2 separate regions of the Homo sapiens genome follow, and region 2 is linked to region 1. Evidence: promoter capture Hi-C in 16 types of primary human blood cells and fetal thymus (Javierre and others, 2016). All regions are on one chromosome and are shown on one strand. Each heading gives the region's core, a stretch centred on a gene start or on the middle of the fragment in contact. The rest is flanking DNA. Distances are from core to core; before and after follow the strand shown. Region 1 holds the start of GIT1 (GIT ArfGAP 1). Region 2 holds the start of NUFIP2 (nuclear FMR1 interacting protein 2).

Region 1 (3,627 bases), core at 763-3,262:
ACCCCAGAATCAGACCACAGATTCGGAGATGGCAGCCCCCCAAAAACCATTTCTACTCCAACTTCTTTGCCTCTGAATTGAGGAAGCTGAGGACCCCACAGTGAGGAAAGTCTTGTTGGGATTACAGAGTAAGCTGGGAACAAAGGCAACACTAAGCCCCAGACTCCCCCGATTGGGCGCCTGCTAAGACTCTCCTCCACATTCCATGCCATGCTTACCCCACGGAGTTGTGGAACAGTGGGGAGACATTTATAAGGCAAGGTGCATCCTCAGCCCTGCCATCCCCAGACCTGCCTGCAGCTCGGGGAACGGAGTCACAGTTTCTTAGGGGTATGGACCCTCAACCCCAGGGCCCTCTAAACCATGATAAGCCCCTAGGAGGCCTTGGTCATAACCACCTATGGAGTATTTTGTGCCCAAGCCCTGCTAAGTCATAGTTCCCAAATACTCTAGCTTGGCACCCCCAGAACCACCAGAGCATCTGTGAGGCTCAACCGGTGGGGTCCTGGGCCTGCTCAAGGGGTGGCTGAAAGTTATGGGCCCACAAACCAGCACCCCATACTCTCACTCTTAATCATGCCCACAGCCCCGCTAGAGTTCACGGACCTCCGCAGCCTGCCCAGGGGCCTACCAGGGAGATAGCTCCTTTGCTAAAGAAAGAATGGATGTGGGCTAGAGCTTCCTTCCCAGGCCAGCTGCAGAGCCCCGTCACTGGCTGTCCTCCCTCATCAGAAGGGAGCAGCCTCTTGGATCATTACCCCTGACTTCCTCAGCAGGCCTGGGGGGTTTCACTCCAGCCCAGTCCTAACTCTGTTAGGAAAAGGAAGGGAACCACCATGTAAATACAGCCAGGAGACAGGCCAGGAAGCCAGCAGGATACGGGGAATCTCGGCACGGCCTCCCACCCATTTCTGGCCAGACTGGGCTAGGGGACAGGGAGGGGCCCGCACCCAGGATAGCTTGATGCCAAGCTCACTTTCCCAAGCAGGCCTTACCGGTGAACAGGAACAGCAGGGTCCAGCCGAGCTGTTCCCAGTCACCACCAGCAGGCCTGGGGATGCCTCCCGAGAAGACACCCGGGTCTAGACTGGCCCTGAACGCCAGGCCCGGCAAGGAGCGCTAGCCTTAGGAACCCGAGGCAGGGAGTCCTGGGAGTAGCCACCGCTCATCTGCTCCTGAGGAGACGGTATTCAGGCCCCACTGGCGCATCTGCCCGGCCCTCTGCTCCTTGCCCTCCACCACCCCGGCAGGCGTACCGACCACGCGAGCAGCAGGTGCAAGACGCGGGGGTGGCACTGAGATGACATAAAACCACACTCGCCCCCACCTCCCAAGCCCTGACGGCCTCCGCCACGGCCCTCCTGCCACCCCAGGCTGGCGCTTCCGTCGGATACAGAGATGGAGGTGGAGGAGCAGCCAGCTGCCCGCCTCCCTCAGACCGAGGAGCGGGAGGCGGCGCCGGGAACGTCCTTCCTCGCTAGTCCACGGCCTCCAGGGAGCATGGGCACCCCAGGCCGGCCCTCCCGCCAAGGGCGCAGCTCCGCAGTGGCCGAGGCGGGGGCCCAGCCTGGAGGCCGCAGCCCCCCGCCCCGCCCAGCCCTCCGGCCCCGCACAGCGCTCTTGCCAGGCCCCGGCGCCCGCCCGGCGGCGGCCTGGCTGTGCGGTCCCGCCCCCGGCCCCGCCGCGCTTACCCGGGGCGCTGCAGTCCGCACACACCTCCGCTCGCGGCCCCTTTCGGGACATCCTCAGCGGCGACGCGGCCGCAGCCCTCTGGGCCAGCGTGGGGGGCGCGGGCGGCGGGCCCGGGCGGCGGCGGCGGCCCCTGCTGCCCGGCCCGGCTCCGGCGAGGCCCCGGCGAGGCTCCGCGCGCCCGGCCAACCGTCCGCCCCGGGGCTGGCCCGGAACCCGCCGTGCCCGCCTGCCCGCTCGCCCTCGGGCGCCCTCCGCCCCGCGCCGCCCCGCCGCCGCTCGCGGCTCCTCTCTCCGCCCCCTGCGCGGCTCCCGGCCGCTTCTGCAGGAAGCGGCGCAGGCCCTGCCCACAGGGGGAGGGGCCGCACCCCCGCCCCGCCGCGCGCTGCCGGCCGCGCCCCCTAGAGAAAGGAAGCCCGGGCGCGGGCAGGAGGGGGCGGGGGCGCTTAAAGGGGCCGCGGCAGATGCCCGGCCCCGGCGGGCAGCGTGGCCTGCGGCCCTGGCCTCCGCTGCAGCGCTCGCCTGGCCCGGAGGCAATGTGAGTCACCCTCACAGCCCCCTCCCCTTCACTTTCCGCGTGGGGTGGACCGGGGGACGCTGGGCCCACGGACGGCGAGGGTGGGGATTAGGGAAGAAGGACTTGGAGGCCCAAGTCCCGCTCCAGGTCAAAGGGGCTGTGCCTTGGGGTACCCGTCTATCTCTGGTTGGGGTGAGGTGTGCGTCCCTGTCCCGTAGGTGTCCACATCTGTGTGTCCAGGGGTGTGTGTGTATGTGTCACACTCTTGCTGAATACGCCCACTGCTAACAATATGGACGCCCAGGTGCCAGAAAGGTCAGGCAGTGTATTCCCCTGCCTCCGGACTAAAAATATATCTATCTCTCCATGCATCCTTCCATCCAGAGAGGAGAGAATCTGGGCGGTTTTTAAAGACCTCCCGAGGAGTGACCACTGTGCCTGTGTGCACTCACATCCACTTGTCATCCGCCTTACACACACCCACGGTGTTTCTGGGCCACCAGAGGTGTGTGTGTCCAGAAAGGGTGCATATAACATAGAGGGGCCGTTTCAGGTGACGGCCTTTCTTCCTGGACTTCACACGACGAGGCAGGCAAAGGCAAGGCAGGTGAGGGACGTGGGTGGGCTGGGGGGCAGGGAGCCTAGGTAGAGGCCGCACATGAGCGCAGCCCCCGCACTGAGCATGCGCCCCCATACGCGTGTGCCGCGCGTGTACCCAACCCCCAATCCCTGCAGCAGCAAAAGGCCCGGGCACTCTGCTTGTGGGGAGAGGGTAGAGGTCCCCAGGGCCAGACCTGGGGGCCAGGTCAGTGGTGACAATTGAGGAGGGGTTCTCCAAGAGTCAGAGACTCCTGCTTGTTAAGATGGGGGCAGTCCTTTGGCAGGGGTGCTCAAGTTGGTCGATTATCCCAACGGTGCCAGAGCGGCAGTGATTTGTGGGTGGGCAGGCTCCTTCCCTAGGGGAGACAAGTAATGCTCATGAGTCACACCACCCGAAATACATGCAAAGCTGCCTCCATCGCCTTTTGCTGCGGCCCAGATTGACAAGTTTGTTTGAAATCGCGATCCATGGGCTTTATTTATAATTGCACCTTAAAAAAATCTTGCAGGCCTCCCCTCCCTCGACAGCCAGCCGCTCAGCTGGTGGGGCTTTTGCAAGCAACGATACCTAGCTGGTGTGTAGGGGGGAGCACCACCTGCCGCCCCGAGCTGCTCTCTCACCAGAGTCCATGGGCTTGGTGGCCTCAGCGGGAAGGGGGTAAGGGGCGGGGGGAGTGAGACGGGAGGAGTGGCCAGGCAGCCCGTGCCAGGCGCTCAGTCCACGAGCGGTGGCCGCCCGTTCACCCCCGATCGACCCCCAGCTATGGAATTTCATTTATTAAATGTCGAGGAGGCTGCTGGCAGCCCTGCCGCTTGGCTGT
Region 2 (3,627 bases), core at 483-2,982, 300 kb before region 1:
TTTTTTTTGTAGAAAATGAGCTGCTAGAAGGAAAAGGCCCAAGTGAAAGCCTCAGAGGCGGAGTCGTGAGCGAACCTGGCAGGAGACGAGGTTCCTGTGGCAGAGAAACTCGTGACCGGGGAGCTGGGTTCCCGCTGGGTACCCCACCCGGCCTCAGGCACCGCCTCTACCCGAAATGAATCCCCCCGCCGCCCCCCCAGGCCTCCTGCCTCTAGGAGCGCCGCGGCCGCCGCCCGCGGCCTCCTTCCCTCTCAGCTCCGCTTCGAGGCCGGCTCCCCGCCCCGACTGCCCGCGCCTCCCGCCGCACCCGGGAGCGGGAAACGCGGCCGCTGGCGCGCGGGGCCCTGCGCAGGCCGCTCCCCTCGTGGCCGCTTCCCTCCCCCACCCCAACCGCCCCCGCCCCTCACCCCAGGGACCCGCCCGGGGCCGCGCGCCGCCACCGGGTTACACAACCCCGGCCGGCGACGGGGGGGGGGGCGGCCGCGGTGCGGGGGGCGCCGGCGCCCCCGCAGTGCAGGGGGCGAGGCTGCGGCCGGTGGTGATCCCGGGTCACCCGGCTCCGCCGCCCCGTGTGGCCCTCGACACCCTTCCCCCTCCGCTCCTCAGTGGGCCGGAGTCGGTGACAGGAATCGGCTTCCAACATGGCGGACAGGAAGCGGCCCCGCGAGGAGGAGAGAACATTCCAGCCGCGCCGGCTCTGGGGGGAGCGGGCGCGGGGCGCCGGCCTCGGGAGGAGCCGCGGGACAAGACTGCGGGGTCCGGCGCCCAAAAAGGGCGTTTAGTGGTGGAAATGACCCGTGAGATGAGGGGTCCCAACAGCCCCCCCCACCGAGACGGGGAGCCCCAAGGCCACAGGTGGGCTTGGGGTGGCGGGTGAGGGGCACTTCCTCAACTCACCCTACCTACCCACTCCTCGCCGCCTGCAAAAGGGTCTCGCGACACCATCCGAGTCGGGATTCGCTAGGCCTTCCTGAGTTACACCTCGAGGGATTTTTTGGGGGGGTAGGTTTACCCCATCTCAGGGCCCCCAAATTGAGGTAACTCCAGGGACGCAGGGAGGTGAATGGGAAAAGAATAATGAGGTTGGACTTGCAAGGCCGACCCAGCAGGTCTCCCTTCAGCCGGGGCCGGGGCCAGGAAGGTCACGCTGGCCTGGCTGGGCCTCTCCCATGCTGGAGGGAAGGAGAGGGCGCTGCAAACCCCATTGCTCAGCCCGAGCTCTAGAATGAAAGGGGCATCCCCAGAGCCGGAGGGGACACACACACACACACCCCGACCCCGTCCGCGCTTTTCGGATCCAGCCCCACCCCCATCTCTCCTGTCCTCCACCCCCAACCCCCTTCCCCCACCCGTCCTCCCTCCCAGACCTGTTTTCTTCTTCGGCGTTTCCTGGTGCTGCTGGAGGGTGTGTTTCTGCTCATGTTTCAGCGGCTTTGGCTGGGCCTTGGGGCTGCCCTCGGCTCCATGCTGCAGGTATTGGTGAGGCTGCTGGTGATGATGGTGGTGGTGGTGGTTGTGGCTGTGGTTGTAGAAATAATAATGGTGGTGGTGGTGCGGCTGCTGCTGCTGCTGCTGAGGGTGATGGTGCGGATGGTGGTGGCTGTGATGGTGCTGAGGCTGTGGCTGGCCGGGCTTCTCCTCCATTGAAAGCGGCTGGGACTCCCTGGCTGAGGCTGCGGGCTGCTGCACCGTCAGGATCTGAGACTGCTTCTCAGGGCTCACTCAGTATATCTGAGCGCGTCTCGCCAGCGCACTGGTTAACCGAGCGATTCTGCGAGATTGGCAGCCGCACTCCAACAATCAGGAGCCACGCTGTGCCGCAAGCCCCGCCCCCAGCTCAAATCCTCTTTCCTTCCCCTTCGCCGCTGCCGCCTGGCCAACGCCACTTACCCTGTGCAACCTCACAGGGCCGGGCCTTCAACGTCAGCACTATGGCTCTCTCTTCTGTCGCTTTCTCTCCTTCACCACGCAGTCTGTGAACAGCACTTTCTACACTCCTCGCCGGCAAGCAGGCTCGTGTCGAGGGTAGCAGATTCCACTGGCGATTCCACTGGTGCTGTGAGCCATCTGCTGGCTTTGCACCTCTTAGAATCTGGTGTTTTTTTGTTTTTTGTTTTGTTTTGTTTTTAATCCTTTTCCGGGTAACCAGAAAGGGAAGCTCAATTCCCTTAACCCCGAGACCACTAAAGGGGCAATACAAAAAGAGGAAATAAATACATTTTTAAGCATACAAGAGCTTCACAATCCAGTAGATCATTTTGTATTCTGGATTCATTTTGCTTTGTATTCATATGCTAATCTCTTCCTTTCCACGAAGGGATTATAGGGTTCCACAATGGGGTATCTGTGTAATTTTCTAAAAGGGCACAAAGGGTTTAAATCATTGTTTCTTTGTAGTTGGAGGCAAGGGAGAGCAGGAGGAATGAAAATTTACACTGAAGGTTTTTTTTTTTTTAATTAAACTCTGCAGGTGAGGTCAACTGTGGAACCAAAATAGGTTTTAGAATGAGAAGTTTCAAGAGCAAAGGAAGGGGAGAAAGAGCACTTAAAAGTTATTAAGTGGGTTTGTTTTTTTTTTTTTTGGCACTTATGGAAAAATTGAAATTAAAAGAAATATTCTGTAGCGTTTTGTAGTGTAGATTTAACTTATCCTGCATTACCACATCACAGTATATGATTTTCAAAAGCAAATGTTAGAGCCATGATAGTGGTTACTCAGGAAGGAAGAGGGTTGTGATGGGGAGGGACACAGGTTACTCTGATAATATTTCATTTTGGGGGCTAGGTGGTGATTACATATATTTGCTTAGTAATTATTTGTTAAACTGAATATACAGATAAAATGCACTTTTCCCAATGTATGTTATAGATTGGGGGATTTTTTTAATTGTAAAATATTCATAATATAAAATTTACCATCTTAATATTAAGTGTATGGTTCAGGTGCATTAGGTACATTCGTATTGTTGTAGAACCATGACCATCATCTATCTCCAGAACTTTTTCATCATTCCAAACTGAAACTTCATACCCAATAAAAATAAATGTCCTTTCCCTCCTCCTTCCATCCCTTGATAACCACTGTTCTGTTTTCTGTCTCTACGAACTTGACTATTCTAGGTACCTCATATAAGTGGGATTGTACTGTATTTGTCTTTTTGTGACTAGCTTTTTTGCATAATGTCTTCAGAGTAGCATACATCAGAATTTCCCTCTTTTTTAAGGCTGACTAATATTCCATTATATGTATATACCACATTTTGTTCATTCACTCAGCAACGGACATATGGACTGTTTCCTCAATGTATGTTACGTTTTTGAATTTTTAAAATGTGGCTTGAATTCCTACAACAGGACAACATTAAAGGAACAAGAAGCTTGAAAGCAAAAAGTTTATGCTATGAAATTAATGAATGTCAATGCAAAAGCTTATTTAAAACGTAAAAGCTGGTTTCCAATAACAAATGTCATTGAATCCTGAAAACCATGACCAAATTTTGGCATGTTCTATACAGTAAGGATTTGTGTTGCCTTGTTAAATTTTATTTTATTTTATTTTGAGATGGAGTTTTGTCCTTGTTGCCCAGGCTGGAGTGCAATGGCATGATCTCAGCCCACCGCAACCTC

The links. The method cuts DNA at HindIII sites, captures the fragments that hold promoters and counts their contacts. A CHiCAGO score of 5 or more calls a contact.
Region 2: the fragment with the promoter of NUFIP2 here is called in contact with the fragment with the promoter of GIT1 in region 1 in 2 of 17 cell types (endothelial precursors and fetal thymus); the score reaches 5.7 in endothelial precursors.

What each region holds. Positions count from the first base shown.
Region 1 is chr17:29,587,636-29,591,262 of GRCh38, forward strand. GIT1 (GIT ArfGAP 1) reads right to left here and starts at 2,013. Exons shown (of 20, transcript NM_014030.4): 1 at 1,692-2,013. The coding sequence starts at 1,743. RefSeq lists enhancers at 295-1,194, 2,094-2,993 and silencers at 1,412-1,601, 1,862-2,341. The HindIII fragment of the contact is 9,256 bases long and covers 1-3,627 here.
Region 2 is chr17:29,292,416-29,296,042 of GRCh38, forward strand. It overlaps NUFIP2 (nuclear FMR1 interacting protein 2), which reads right to left and starts at 1,733. Exons shown (of 4, transcript NM_020772.3): 1 at 1,368-1,733. The coding sequence starts at 1,644. RefSeq lists silencers at 402-581, 1,212-1,331 and enhancers at 1,038-1,798, 1,492-1,591, 1,902-2,101. The HindIII fragment of the contact is 5,437 bases long and covers 1-3,375 here.